Linked DNA regions of Homo sapiens: region 2 is linked to region 1. The links are contacts of gene promoters, found by promoter capture Hi-C in blood cells and fetal thymus (Javierre and others, 2016). All regions are on one chromosome and are shown on one strand. Each heading gives the region's core, a stretch centred on a gene start or on the middle of the fragment in contact. The rest is flanking DNA. Distances are from core to core; before and after follow the strand shown. Region 1 holds the start of GNAT1 (G protein subunit alpha transducin 1). Region 2 holds the start of RBM5-AS1 (RBM5 antisense RNA 1).

The links. Contacts are between HindIII fragments. The CHiCAGO score rates a contact against its expected background, and 5 or more counts as called.
Region 2: a fragment that was not itself captured here is called in contact with the fragment with the promoter of GNAT1 in region 1 in 1 of 17 cell types (endothelial precursors); the score reaches 5.7 in endothelial precursors.

The regions. Positions count from the first base shown.
Region 1 is chr3:50,186,492-50,192,903 of GRCh38, forward strand. GNAT1 (G protein subunit alpha transducin 1) reads left to right here and starts at 5,119. Exons shown (of 9, transcript NM_144499.3): 1 at 5,119-5,340. The coding sequence starts at 5,235. It overlaps SEMA3F (semaphorin 3F), which reads left to right. Exons shown (of 19, transcript NM_004186.5): 18 at 122-255; 19 at 1,214-2,584. The coding sequence ends at 1,624. The HindIII fragment of the contact is 1,620 bases long and covers 4,034-5,653 here.
Region 2 is chr3:50,097,294-50,103,240 of GRCh38, forward strand. It overlaps RBM5 (RNA binding motif protein 5), which reads left to right. Exons shown (of 25, transcript NM_005778.4): 5 at 2,689-2,758; 6 at 3,239-3,312; 7 at 5,790-5,873. It overlaps RBM5-AS1 (RBM5 antisense RNA 1), which reads right to left and starts at 3,695. Exons shown (of 1, transcript NR_045388.1): 1 at 2,310-3,695. RefSeq lists a silencer at 3,150-3,350. The HindIII fragment of the contact is 773 bases long and covers 2,654-3,426 here.

The DNA of each region.
Region 1 (6,412 bases), core at 3,869-6,368:
GTTGCCCCATCAACACAGAGCACTACATTGGTGAGTGGGTGCCCCTCGGTGCCTGCCCCGAAGCAGTCAGCAGGCTGCCCGGAGGTGATGCTGCTTTTGCTCAACCCCTCTCACTCTAAAGCCAACAAGAATGCCGTGGAGTCTGTGCAGTATGGCGTGGCCGGCAGCGCAGCCTTCCTTGAGTGCCAGCCCCGCTCGCCCCAAGCCACTGTTAAGTGGCTGTTCCAGCGAGATCCTGGTGACCGGCGCCGAGAGGTGAGTTCCTGCGCCCGGTGCTGCACCGTGGATGTGAGTCCTTGCACAGTGGTGAAATGTAGTAGAGGAGTGATCTGGAGCAACTCTCATGCTGTGAAACCCCTTCCAAGCTCCCTTCCCTACATGCAAATCCTTTGAGTGAAAACAGTTACATGGAAACTCCCTGGGATTGGCCTCATTCTATGGAAAGTGTTTCTGGGTATGCCTGTTCACATGAAAATTCCATATGCATACCACATTGGGGGTGTACCTTCTACAAAAACATCATGTGAGTGAGCTCCAGTATGTGGAAATTCTATGGGGCCCTCATTTTATGAAAATGCCCTACAGGTGTCCCTGTTTATGTGGAAATTCTATGTGGTTATCCCAATTGGATATTCTCGTTAAATGGAAATTCTGGCTGGACGTGGTGGCTCACACCTGTAACCCCAACACTTTGGGAAGCCAAGACAGGCAAATTGCTTGAGGTCAGGGGTTCGAGACCAGCCTGGGCAACATGGTGAAACCCTCTCTCTACCAAAAATACAAAAATTAGCTGGGCATAGTCATGCATGTGGTCCCAGCTACTTGGGAGGCTAAGGTGGGAGGATGGCTTGAGCCTGGGAGGCAGAGGTTGCAGTAAACCGAGATCATTCAACTGCATTCTAGCCTAGGCGACAGAGCCAGACCTTGTCTCAAAAAAAAAAAAAAAAAAAAAAAAGGAATTCTGTGTGTGCTTCAAATTTTCCTCATTGTACAGAACCTCCTTATGGTCATCACTCCTGAAATGGAAATCTGTACAGATGCCTTATTCAAATATCTCTCATTATGTAGAAACTTCATGTGGTTTTTCTGGCATATGGAAATCCCACATGGGTGCCTCTACACGGAATGGCCACAAAGGTGGTCTGATCTGGTTGCTGGCTAGGGCCATAGGGTGGTCACAGAGCCTCTGAACCCCCTCTCCTTGCCCCTGCAGATTCGTGCAGAGGACCGCTTCCTGCGCACAGAGCAGGGCTTGTTGCTCCGTGCACTGCAGCTCAGCGATCGTGGCCTCTACTCCTGCACAGCCACTGAGAACAACTTTAAGCACGTCGTCACACGAGTGCAGCTGCATGTACTGGGCCGGGACGCCGTCCATGCTGCCCTCTTCCCACCACTGTCCATGAGCGCCCCGCCACCCCCAGGCGCAGGCCCCCCAACGCCTCCTTACCAGGAGTTAGCCCAGCTGCTGGCCCAGCCAGAAGTGGGCCTCATCCACCAGTACTGCCAGGGTTACTGGCGCCATGTGCCCCCCAGCCCCAGGGAGGCTCCAGGGGCACCCCGGTCTCCTGAGCCCCAGGACCAGAAAAAGCCCCGGAACCGCCGGCACCACCCTCCGGACACATGAGGCCAGCTGCCTGTGCCTGCCATGGGCCAGCCTAGCCCTTGTCCCTTTTAATATAAAAGATATATATATATATATATATATATAAAATATCTATATTCTATACACACCCTGCCCCTGCAAAGACAGTATTTATTGGTGGGTTGAATATAGCCTGCCTCAGTGGCAGCATCCTCCAAAACTTAGACCCATGCTGGTCAGAGACGGCAGAAAACAGAGCCTGCCTAACCAGGCCCAGCCAGTTGGTGGGGCCAGGCCAGGACCACACAGTCCCCAGACTCAGCTGGAAGTCTACCTGCTGGACAGCCTCCGCCAAGATCTACAGGACAAAGGGAGGGAGCAAGCCCTACTCGGATGGGGCACGGACTGTCCACCTTTTCTGATGTGTGTTGTCAGCCTGTGCTGTGGCATAGACATGGATGCGAGGACCACTTTGGAGACTGGGGTGGCCTCAAGAGCACACAGAGAAGGGAAGAAGGGGCCATCACAGGATGCCAGCCCCTGCCTGGGTTGGGGGCACTCAGCCACGACCAGCCCCTTCCTGGGTATTTATTCTCTATTTATTGGGGATAGGAGAAGAGGCATCCTGCCTGGGTGGGACAGCCTCTTCAGCCCCTTCTCCCCTCCCCGCCTGGCCAGGGCAGGGCCACCCCACTCTACCTCCTTAGCTTTCCCTGTGCCACTTTGACTCAGAGGCTGGGAGCATAGCAGAGGGGCCAGGCCCAGGCAGAGCTGACGGGAGGCCCCAGCTCTGAGGGGAGGGGGTCCGTGGTAGAGGCCTGGGGCCGGTAGAGGCTCCCCAGGGCTCCCTTATGTCCACCACTTCAGGGGATGGGTGTGGATGTAATTAGCTCTGGGGGGCAGTTGGGTAGATGGGTGGGGGCTCCTGGTGGCCTTCTGCTGCCCAGGCCACAGCCGCCTTTGGGTTCCATCTTGCTAATAAACACTGGCTCTGGGACTAGACTTTGGCTTCTCTCCTTGGTCAGGGGATTTAGAGCCACACGTGGTGGGCCTGGGGAGCCAGGTGGGGGGCTGGGAAGGGAGTAGATTGGCTCCATTTAAAGAAACCCAACATGTAGAAACCACATTTAGTTTGACAAACCTGGGCTGCTGCACCACCCCAAACACTTGGGTAGTGCGAAGGGCTGTAGAGACCCCTCAGGGCCCACTCACTCCTCAGGGTCAGGGAGGGTGGGTGGAGCCTGAAGGCTGAAAGTGGCAGAAATGCAACGGCCTCACTCCTGGACAGATCCCCATCATCCAACAGGGTGGGTGTAGAAGCTGCCAGCCTGTGGTAGGAGCCAGCATTCACTTCCCACGCATACTATTTAGAGACAGCCGTTAGTGCTCAGTGTCTGGTGCCCCGGCACCCCCTTGTGGTCTCTTGAGTCTGTGGCAGAGTTGAGTGCTGAAAGGCAGCCAGGTTCCAGGGAAGAGTCCAGCCAGGAGGCTCAGGGTGCCTGGAGGAGCCTTTGAGAGCCCAAGATTTGGGTTTTCCTATGGAAGTTGAGGGTGGGAAGTCTCTAGAACCTGGGAGCTCAACCTGAACAATTTCTGCCCGGCAGTGAGCCCTGCACCTGAACAGAGCACCAGACCCCCTAAGCTGAGGCAGGCAGGCCCTGGAGATAATCTTAGGCAGGCCTCAGAGCACCCACAGCAGACAGAGCAGGAGCAGGATAGGTGAGCCCCATTCCTCCATACCCCAGGGAACACTACACCTGCTCTGGGATGCAATTTCTCCACCTGGCAACAGGCCTGCAAAACATTCTCTGGAAGAGCCTGGCCACTTCTGCAGATTAGAGACTTTGTTGCACCCAAATTCAAGTGTACATATAGGCACAGGCGCCTGCAAGCATGCATGCACACACACAGTCATACACAGGCAGAGATGGACATGCACAGGCACACATATGCTCAGGTACAAACAGGCATGTTTACACCCCTGCGTATAAGCAAGTGCACACATGCAAACCTACACAAACTGCAAAACACACAAGCCTATGTGTGCATGAAGAGAATACACAAAGCATATTCACACATGCATACACATGTGTATACATGTGCACACATACATAAGCATGCGCACAGGCACGTGATTCCTATAAGAGCACATGCACTCACAAAGGCATAAACATGCAGGCACACATGTACACACAGGTATTCATGCACAAATGTGTCAAGTTATTGCTCGCTTGGTGCCAGCAAAAGACACACCCATGGCCGGGCGAGGTGGCTCACACCTGAATCCCAGCACTTTGGGAGGCCGAGGTGGGTGGATCACAAGGTCAGGAGATCGAGACCATCCTGACCAACATGGTGAAACCCCGTCTCTACTAAAAATACACAAAAAATTAGCTGGGTATGGTGGCACATGCCCGTAATCCCAGCTACTTGGGAGGCTGAGGTGGGAGAAGCTTAAACCAGGGAGTTGAAGGTTGCAGTGAGCCAAGATCGTGTCACAGCACTCAAGCCTGGCAACAGAGTGAAACTCTGTCTCAAAAAAAAAAAAAAAAAAAAAAAAAAAAGGCCAGGCACGGTGGCTCATGCCTGTAATCCCAGCACTTTGGGAGGCCGAGGCGGGCAGATCACGAGGTCAGGAGACTGAGACCATCCTGGCTAACACGGTGAAACCCTGTCTTTACTAAAATACAAAAAAAGTAGCCCGACGTAGTGGCGGGCACCTGTTGTCCCAGCTACTCAGGAGGCTGAGGCAGGAGAATGGCGTGAACCTGGGAGGTGGAGCTTGCAGTGAGCTGAGATTGCGCCACTGCACTCCAGCCTGAGCAACAGAGCGAGACTCCATCTCAGAAAAAAAAAAAAAAAAGACACATACACCGAGGCACACAGAGCAGATATGCATGCCCACCACAGTCCGCTGGAAGCAGAGGACCTCCTTGGGGCAGCTCCAGCCTGTGATATGGGATGAATGCAATGCCCACTGTTTCCCTCTCTCTGGATTCCCTGCAGGTCATAAAATCCCAGTCCAGAGTCACCAGCCCTTCTTAACCACTTCCTACTGTGTGACCCTTTCAGCCTTTACTTCCTCATCAGTAAAATGAGGCTGATGATATGGGCATCCATACTCCAGGGCCAGTGTGAGCTTACAACAAGATAAGGAGTGGTGCTGAGCCTGGTGCCGGGCAGGCAGCAGGCATGTTTCTCCCAATTATGCCCTCTCACTGCCAGCCCCACCTCCATTGTCCTCACCCCCAGGGCTCAAGGTTCTGCCTTCCCCTTTCTCAGCCCTGACCCTACTGAACATGTCTCCCCACTCCCAGGCAGTGCCAGGGCCTCTCCTGGAGGGTTGCGGGGACAGAAGGACAGCCGGAGTGCAGAGTCAGCGGTTGAGGGATTGGGGCTATGCCAGCCCGATTAGAAGGGTTGGGGGGGCTGAGCTGGATTCACCTGTCCTTGTCTCTGATTGGCTCTTGGACACCCCTAGCCCCCAAATCCCACTAAGCAGCCCCACCAGGGATTGCACAGGTCCGTAGAGAGCCAGTTGATTGCAGGTCCTCCTGGGGCCAGAAGGGTGCCTGGGAGGCCAGGTTCTGGGGATCCCCTCCATCCAGAAGAACCACCTGCTCACTCTGTCCCTTCGCCTGCTGCTGGGACCATGGGGGCTGGGGCCAGTGCTGAGGAGAAGCACTCCAGGGAGCTGGAAAAGAAGCTGAAAGAGGACGCTGAGAAGGATGCTCGAACCGTGAAGCTGCTGCTTCTGGGTAGGGGTGTGGGCCCAGGTGGGGCCACTGCCACCAGGTCATTGGTCTGGAGGCAGGCAGGCAGCCCTTCTGTGAAGCAAGGATTCCCTGGGAAGCAGTATGAGCCTGTGACAGAGTAGGGCACAGGGTGGGAGCCCTGGCCAAGCAAGGCCAGGCCTGACAGGTGGTGTCCTAGTCCCCCAGGGCTGGACATCCCACAAAGCCCCTCTCCAGACGGCTCTGCCTCAGGTGACCCACCCTCCCCAGAAGTGCGTGCCAACCACACTCTTGCACGGGTGTGTGATGCCGACTTTTCCGTGGCTGGGTTCCCGCAAGCTTCATGCAGCCTTTGGTTTGATACGCCTGCTAGGCAATGCTCAGAAGCCAGGAGCCTCACTGGGAGCCCGTTATTGGGCTGCTACTTTGGGAAGGGGATGGCCATAGTCCTCCTGGGAGTGGGGAGCCTCTAGGACCACCCAGATCCACAACGAATGGCCCTCAGGTGCCAGAGGGCTGTGGCTGATAGACCTACAAAGCAGCCAGAGGGGCTGGCGGGTACTGAGGCCCAGTGGGAGTAGATAAAGCCGCGTCCACTGGACCATGGGCACTGAGGAGAGATGGGGCTGATCCAGGCCTGCCTCAAGGTCACTGCCTGACCTCTCAAGGGGAAAAAGCAGCTTCAAGAGGGGCTCCACCCAAGCTCCCCAGGGTCTGGTCAACCAGCTGGAGGTGGGTGAGGGACCAAGCCAGTCCCACTTTCCCCCAAGGCAGAGAGGCTAAGCCGGAAATCTCATTAACTGTGCCCAACGCCCTCGCAGGGGCAAGCTCAGAAAGGATGTCAACTCTGCCCTCCCTCCTACCCAAAAGAGCTAATTCCCTCTGAGCCTCCTGGAGACACCTGCACCCCTTCAGGTGAAATGCAAGGGGTTTACCCGCCTCAAATAACCCAGTGCTTGCGGTACCAGAGGCTCCCACGAGGTGGCGATGACGCTCCGGGATTTCTTCATTGCAGTCTCACAGCATAATAAAGGCTGCCTGTGCCGGGGTCTTGGGGACTCCCCTGTCCCAGAACAGTTGAGGTCGTTGAGTCCCC
Region 2 (5,947 bases), core at 1,790-4,289, 91 kb before region 1:
GCTGAGGCAGGAGAATGGCATGAATCTGAGAGGCGGAGCTTGCAGTGAGCCGAGATCGTGCCATTGCACTCCAGCCTGGGCGACAGAGCAAGACTGTCTCAAAAAAAAAAAAAAAGAAACTGCTACAAGTATTGATTTGAGTGTTAGAAATTTTAATGAGTGGTTGAATTCACAGGTGTGATACCTGAGGATAATGAGGATTGGCTGTGTGTAGTCTTGCAGCCGTTGCACCTAGTTATGGAAAGTAGAGGCCAGTGAGAATCTTGTTTCCACAAATTTCACCCTGTTTTTTTTTTCATGGTAGTATTCATGCCTGATATTATTGATGAAGAGACTAGTATATTTTTGTGGCCTTTTGGAAAAAGGAGTTGGTCTGACATTGGAACAAGCCTACCAGCCAGAATACTTTATTCTAGCCCCAATTAATGTTTGATTTATTAGGAGCCTAAGAATGTGATGAACTTTGAAAATTTTTACCAATAATTTAACTGTAAGAAAAGTATGATCCATTAAAAATGTTTACCTGGCCTGGTGCGGTGGCTCACGCCTGTAATCCCAGCACTTTGGGAGGCCAAGGTGGGTGGATTACCTGAGCCCAAGAGATGGAGACCAGCCTGGGCAACATGGTGAAACCCCTCTCTACTAAAATATAAAATATTAGCTGGGTGTGGCGACATGCGCCTGTAGTCCCAGCTACTCTTGAGGCTGAGGCAGAATTGCTTGAACCCAGGAGGCGGAGGTTGCAGTGAGCCGAGATCATGCCATTGCTCTCCAGCCTGGGCAACAGAGTGAGACTCCATCTCAAAAAAATTTAAAAAAAAGTTTATCATCAGGCTCTTCATTTTTTGGCTGTTGATTTTTTTCCTTATTTTGAGAGTAGGCCTCAAAGAGCAGGAAGGCTATTCTTGATTAGGCGTACTTCAGGGCACAGTGACGCATCCACTGCCTCTTTTAAATCTCATCTGAGTCCTTATTTTTATTTTTTTATTTTTTTAAAGATAGGGTTGCACTTTGTCACCCAGGCTGGAGTGCAGTGGTGCAATAGCCCATTGTAACCTCGAACTCCTGGGCTTAAACAGTCCTCCCACCTCAGCCTCCCAGGTAACTAGGACTACAGGTGTATACCATCATGCTTGGGTAATTTTTATTTTATTTTATTATTTTTTTTTGAGACGGAGTCTCACTCTTGCCCAGGCTGGAGTGCAGTGGCGCGATCTCGGCTCACTGCAACCTCCGCCTCCCGGGGTCAAGCGATTCTCTTGCCTCAGCCTCCCAAGTAGCTAGGACTACAGGCACGTGCCACCACGTCTGGCTGATTTTTTGTATTTTTAGTAGAGACGGGATTTCACTGTGTTAGCCAGGATGGTCTCCATCTCTTGACCTCGTGATCCACCTGCCTTGGCCCCCCAAAGTGCTGGAATTACAGGCGTGAGCCACTATGCGAGGCCTAATTTTTAAAATTTTTGTATACAGATGGGGTCTTACTGTGTTCCCCAGGCTGGTCTCACACTCCTGTGCTCAAGCGCTCATCTTGCCTCATCTTCCCAAAGCGCTAGGATTATAGGCTTGAGCCACTGTACTATCCTGCAGAACAAAGGACAGGGAGATTAGACTAAAGGATGGAGGCTTGAGACATCATACCACAAGCAAGGATGTGTATCATAACAGAAATTAATTGCGGCCAGGCATTGTGGCTCACTCCTGTAATCCTAGCACTTTGGGAGGCCAAGGTGGCCGGATCGCTTGAGCCCAGGAGTTCCAGACCAGCCTGGGCAACGTGGCAAAACTCTGTCTCTACAAAAAATACAAAAATTAACCAGGTGTGGTGGTGTGCATTTGTAGTCCCAGCTACTTAGGAGGCTGAGGTGGGAGGATCACTTGAGTCCAGGAAGGCAGAGGTTGCAGTGAGCTGAGATCACACCAGTGCACTTCAGCCTGGGTGTCAGAGCTAGGCCCTGTCTCAAAAAAAAAAAAGGAAAAATTAATTACACCTGAGGGAAATTCCCATGCAACATTTAATGAATGCCTTCAGTGCTGTTATAATGCATTAATTTCTATGAGAAATGTTCTCTCTTTTTTGTGCCTTTTAGGAAAATTGCATTTTGGTGATAGAAGATAAAAACTTGGCTAATTAGGCCAGGCATGGTGGGTCATGCATGTAATGATATGGGAGGCTGGCATATCACTTGAGGCCAGGAGTTCGAGACTAGCCTGTCCAACACAGTGAAACCCCGTCTCTACTAAAAATACAAAAATTAGCTGGATGTGGTGGTGGATGCCTGTAATCCCAGCTACCTGGGAGGCTGAGGCAGAAGAATCGCTTGAATCCAGGAGGTGGAGGTTGAAGTGAGCCGAGATCACGTCACTGTACTCCAGCCTGGGTGACAGAGCGAGACTCCGTCTCAAAAAAAAAAAAAAATCAGTCACGCATGGTGGTGCACACCTATAATCCCAGCTACTCGGGAGGCTGAGGCAGGAGAATTGCTTGAACCCAGGAGGTGGTGGTTGCAGTGAGCTGAGATCATGCCACTGCACTCCAGCCTGGGCAATCAAGTGAGTGAGAGACAGAGACTCCCATCTTAAAAAAAAAAAAAACTTGGCTAATTAAACAGTTGATGTAATTCCTATTCCATGGGGAATAGTGTGTGGCAAAAGCTTTAACTGTAAATAATGTAAAACCCTGTGCAGATTCGAGAAATGATGGAGTCCTTCGAAGGCCCTCAGCCTGCGGATGTGAGGCTGATGAAGAGGAAAACAGGTGAGAGCTTGCTTAGTTCCTGATATTATTGTTCTCTTCCCCATTCCCACCTCAGTCCCTAAAGAACATCCTGATTCCCCCAGTCTTCAAGCACATGAATTCAGAATGAAAGGTTTGCCATGGCTAAGGAATGTGACTCTTTGAAAACCATGTTAGCATCTGAGGAACTTTTTTAAACTTTGTTTTAGGGACTTTTTTTTCCTTAGGTAAGTAATGATTTATAAACTCCTTTTTTTTTTTGACTATAGTCGGTTGCATGGTTACTTTAAGCGTGGAATCAAATGGAGTGGCATTTAGTTCAGGCGGCTTGTTCCTTGCCATGGCAAAGTATCAAGAAGATCCCCAAGTCAAGTCACATTTGTAAAGCTGCTTCCCAATTGGCTTTGTCACGCAGTGTTGAAGCAGTGGGAGAGAGATTCACCTGTTATAAAGGAACTGACTAACACAAGTATCCCGTCTATATCTGAATGCTGTCTCTAGGTGTAAGCCGTGGTTTCGCCTTCGTGGAGTTTTATCACTTGCAAGATGCTACCAGCTGGATGGAAGCCAATCAGGTTGCTTCACTCACCAAGTCTAGATATTCATGAAAATGGAACAAGTCTGTACAATTTTAAAAAAAGGTTGAAGGAGTGGTTTGTTCCAAAGGAGTGACTTTTTTTTAAAAAAAAAGCTTTGTATATATTAAAATTGATGTTACTAGAATAAGTACAGTACCAAGGACTTCATTATAGAATTTGTTCTGCCTTTAAACATGGCTACCTACCTGGCAGGGCTTTGTTAACTACTGAATACCTGTCTGGTAATCACTAAAACATCTTAATGTTTCCCTTTTTTCTAGTTTGTTATATTCCTATTATGTCCATTGAGAGTAAGCTTAGTATATCAAACTCTCCATTTGACAGTGAAGAGAACATAGTGAAAGTCTGTGGCGGCATTTTTATAAGTAATTCCTTATTTCTGCCTGAAGACCACAAAGCCTCCTGGAGGCGTAACTGCTCAGACCGGTCTTCAGGGAATATTTAAGGACTTAGTGGAATTTATGAACAATAAGTCTGATGAGATTAGCCTGGGAGTGGTGTCCTGCAGCTGTCTAATCTAGTTAGAGTGGCATTAACATTCTAATCTCCTTGAGAATGCCTTTTATAGTCTGTTCAAAGCAAGTCATTGATGGTTCTTCGAGGTAGTGTTAACTGAAGTGTTCTTCAGTTTGTCAAGATAATGTTCAGTGCTTGGCACTTAAATAACATTTTTTGCAAGAACTCCAAGGCACATTATTGAATGCCTTTAACCAAGTGCATTCTGGGAAGTTTGCTTGACTCATTATCTTGCTTTTCTGCAGCATTCTGTGATTTGAGTCATCCATGAATCCATGAATAAAAGTTACATTCTTTGATTGGTAATATTGCCATTTATAACAAGACTCACTAATGAGGGTATCACTTTGACTGACTGATTTGTTAAAGTTTTTAAGCCTCTCATTTTCCTAACCCAGAAATCACAGCCTGATTTTATTAAAAGTAGAGCTTCATTCATTTCATACCATAGATACCATCCTAGTAAATCCAGAACATATACAAGGTTCATGTGAGTCTGCTTTCTTGACATGATAGCATTGTTTGATGCAGTGGATATGTCAGAATGACTAACCTAGGAGTTTAAAACTCCTAAGAAACTAAAACCTGTAAGACATTTAAAAGTCTCCACAATTTTAATGTATACAAAGCTATGTTACTGTGTAACACATTACAGTTCAAATTCACTCCAGAAATAAAAGGCCAGTAGGATTAGGGACTCACTGGTAGTTTGGAGTCTCCCAGCACACATCCCTCCTAGTGGGATGATCTATTCACATATCTCCCAGCTTTTTTATTTTTGCTTCTGTATATCACAGTGAGTGGATGGCCCTTCAGCTTTTTCTCTCCTGGCCAGACATGCAGTCTTGCCTTTAGATATCGCAGAGACAAAATTCACAGCATGTCTTAAATCTTCCAGGATTTGCAAGAACCAAATTGCTCAACAGTATGTATGTTTAGAGGGGTTAGACTCCTTTTTAAAATCTGGATATCTAACCACCTACTTAAATCTGTTTGATAGTGTCAAACCACCCCCACCCTTGATCCTCCCACCCCCAAGAAAAAGAAAAGATGCTCCTGTTAAATGAAGGCTCTTTAGGGGTAGGTGCTAGGTATACTCTTGGCTAGATTGATTCAGCTCAGAATTTTGACTTTTTAAAGCTAAGTCCTTGTAGTCACATGGTTGACTTGAAGGATGAGGTGGTGTGTGCATTTATGAGCTTTTCCTACCCCCCTGAAGAAACTTCATTGGCCTCCTGGTTACTCACCTTGAAGAGAGTACCATCCATTTTAGTGAAAAACACATCTGTCACCTAGGACATGACATGGTTGCAGTTGACAGGAAAAAAAAAATCTCATTTAGTTGTTTTAGAGTTGGTGGCATTCAGAATAGTCCCTCTTGAGAAAGAATTGTAACCAGATTCCCTTTAAAAATGAGTTCCCCTCCCTTTCCCCCCAAAGGACTCATCCTGAAGCAGAAGGTGTGGGGGGAAGGAGAAATGTAAAGGCTTTTACTTTGCATAAGGATGGGGGACTGGGGAAAAAGGTGAAGCGAAGCCCAAGGACACCATGCTAAGGGCAAAAGTAAGAGACAGTCTCAGAACTGAGAGAATTGTGTCTTCTGCTTTTTGAAGTAGACTGTCACACTCAGGCAGCCTGTCAATGCTGAATGTTAGGACTTCTGTCTCCGCTGGAGACACGGCCTGGTGCAAGTCAGCGTTTAGTGTTTGACAGCTTTCTCAGCACTCCCTGACTCCGTTTACCTTTACTCCGCATCCCATTCTCTTACTGCCTATCTGAAGGATTGGATGGGCAGAGTATAGGTGGCGGTGGTTGGTCCTCCCCGTATGTTGTCCATTTAATTCCAGAGCACTGATTTTTCCGAAGTGTGCTCTGCCCTGGGAAAATGGACACATGTTCCTCACAATGGGAATAACTAATTACTTCTTTTCTTACAGAAAAAGTTGGTGATTCAAGGAAAGCACATTGCAATGCATTATAGCAATCCCAGACCTAAGTTTGAAGATTGGCTTTGTAACAAGGTAAGCATATGTTCTTCCCAAATAGACAAAACTCCTTTAGGATATTGCTGTTTTTTTCTGTTTGTTTATTTGAC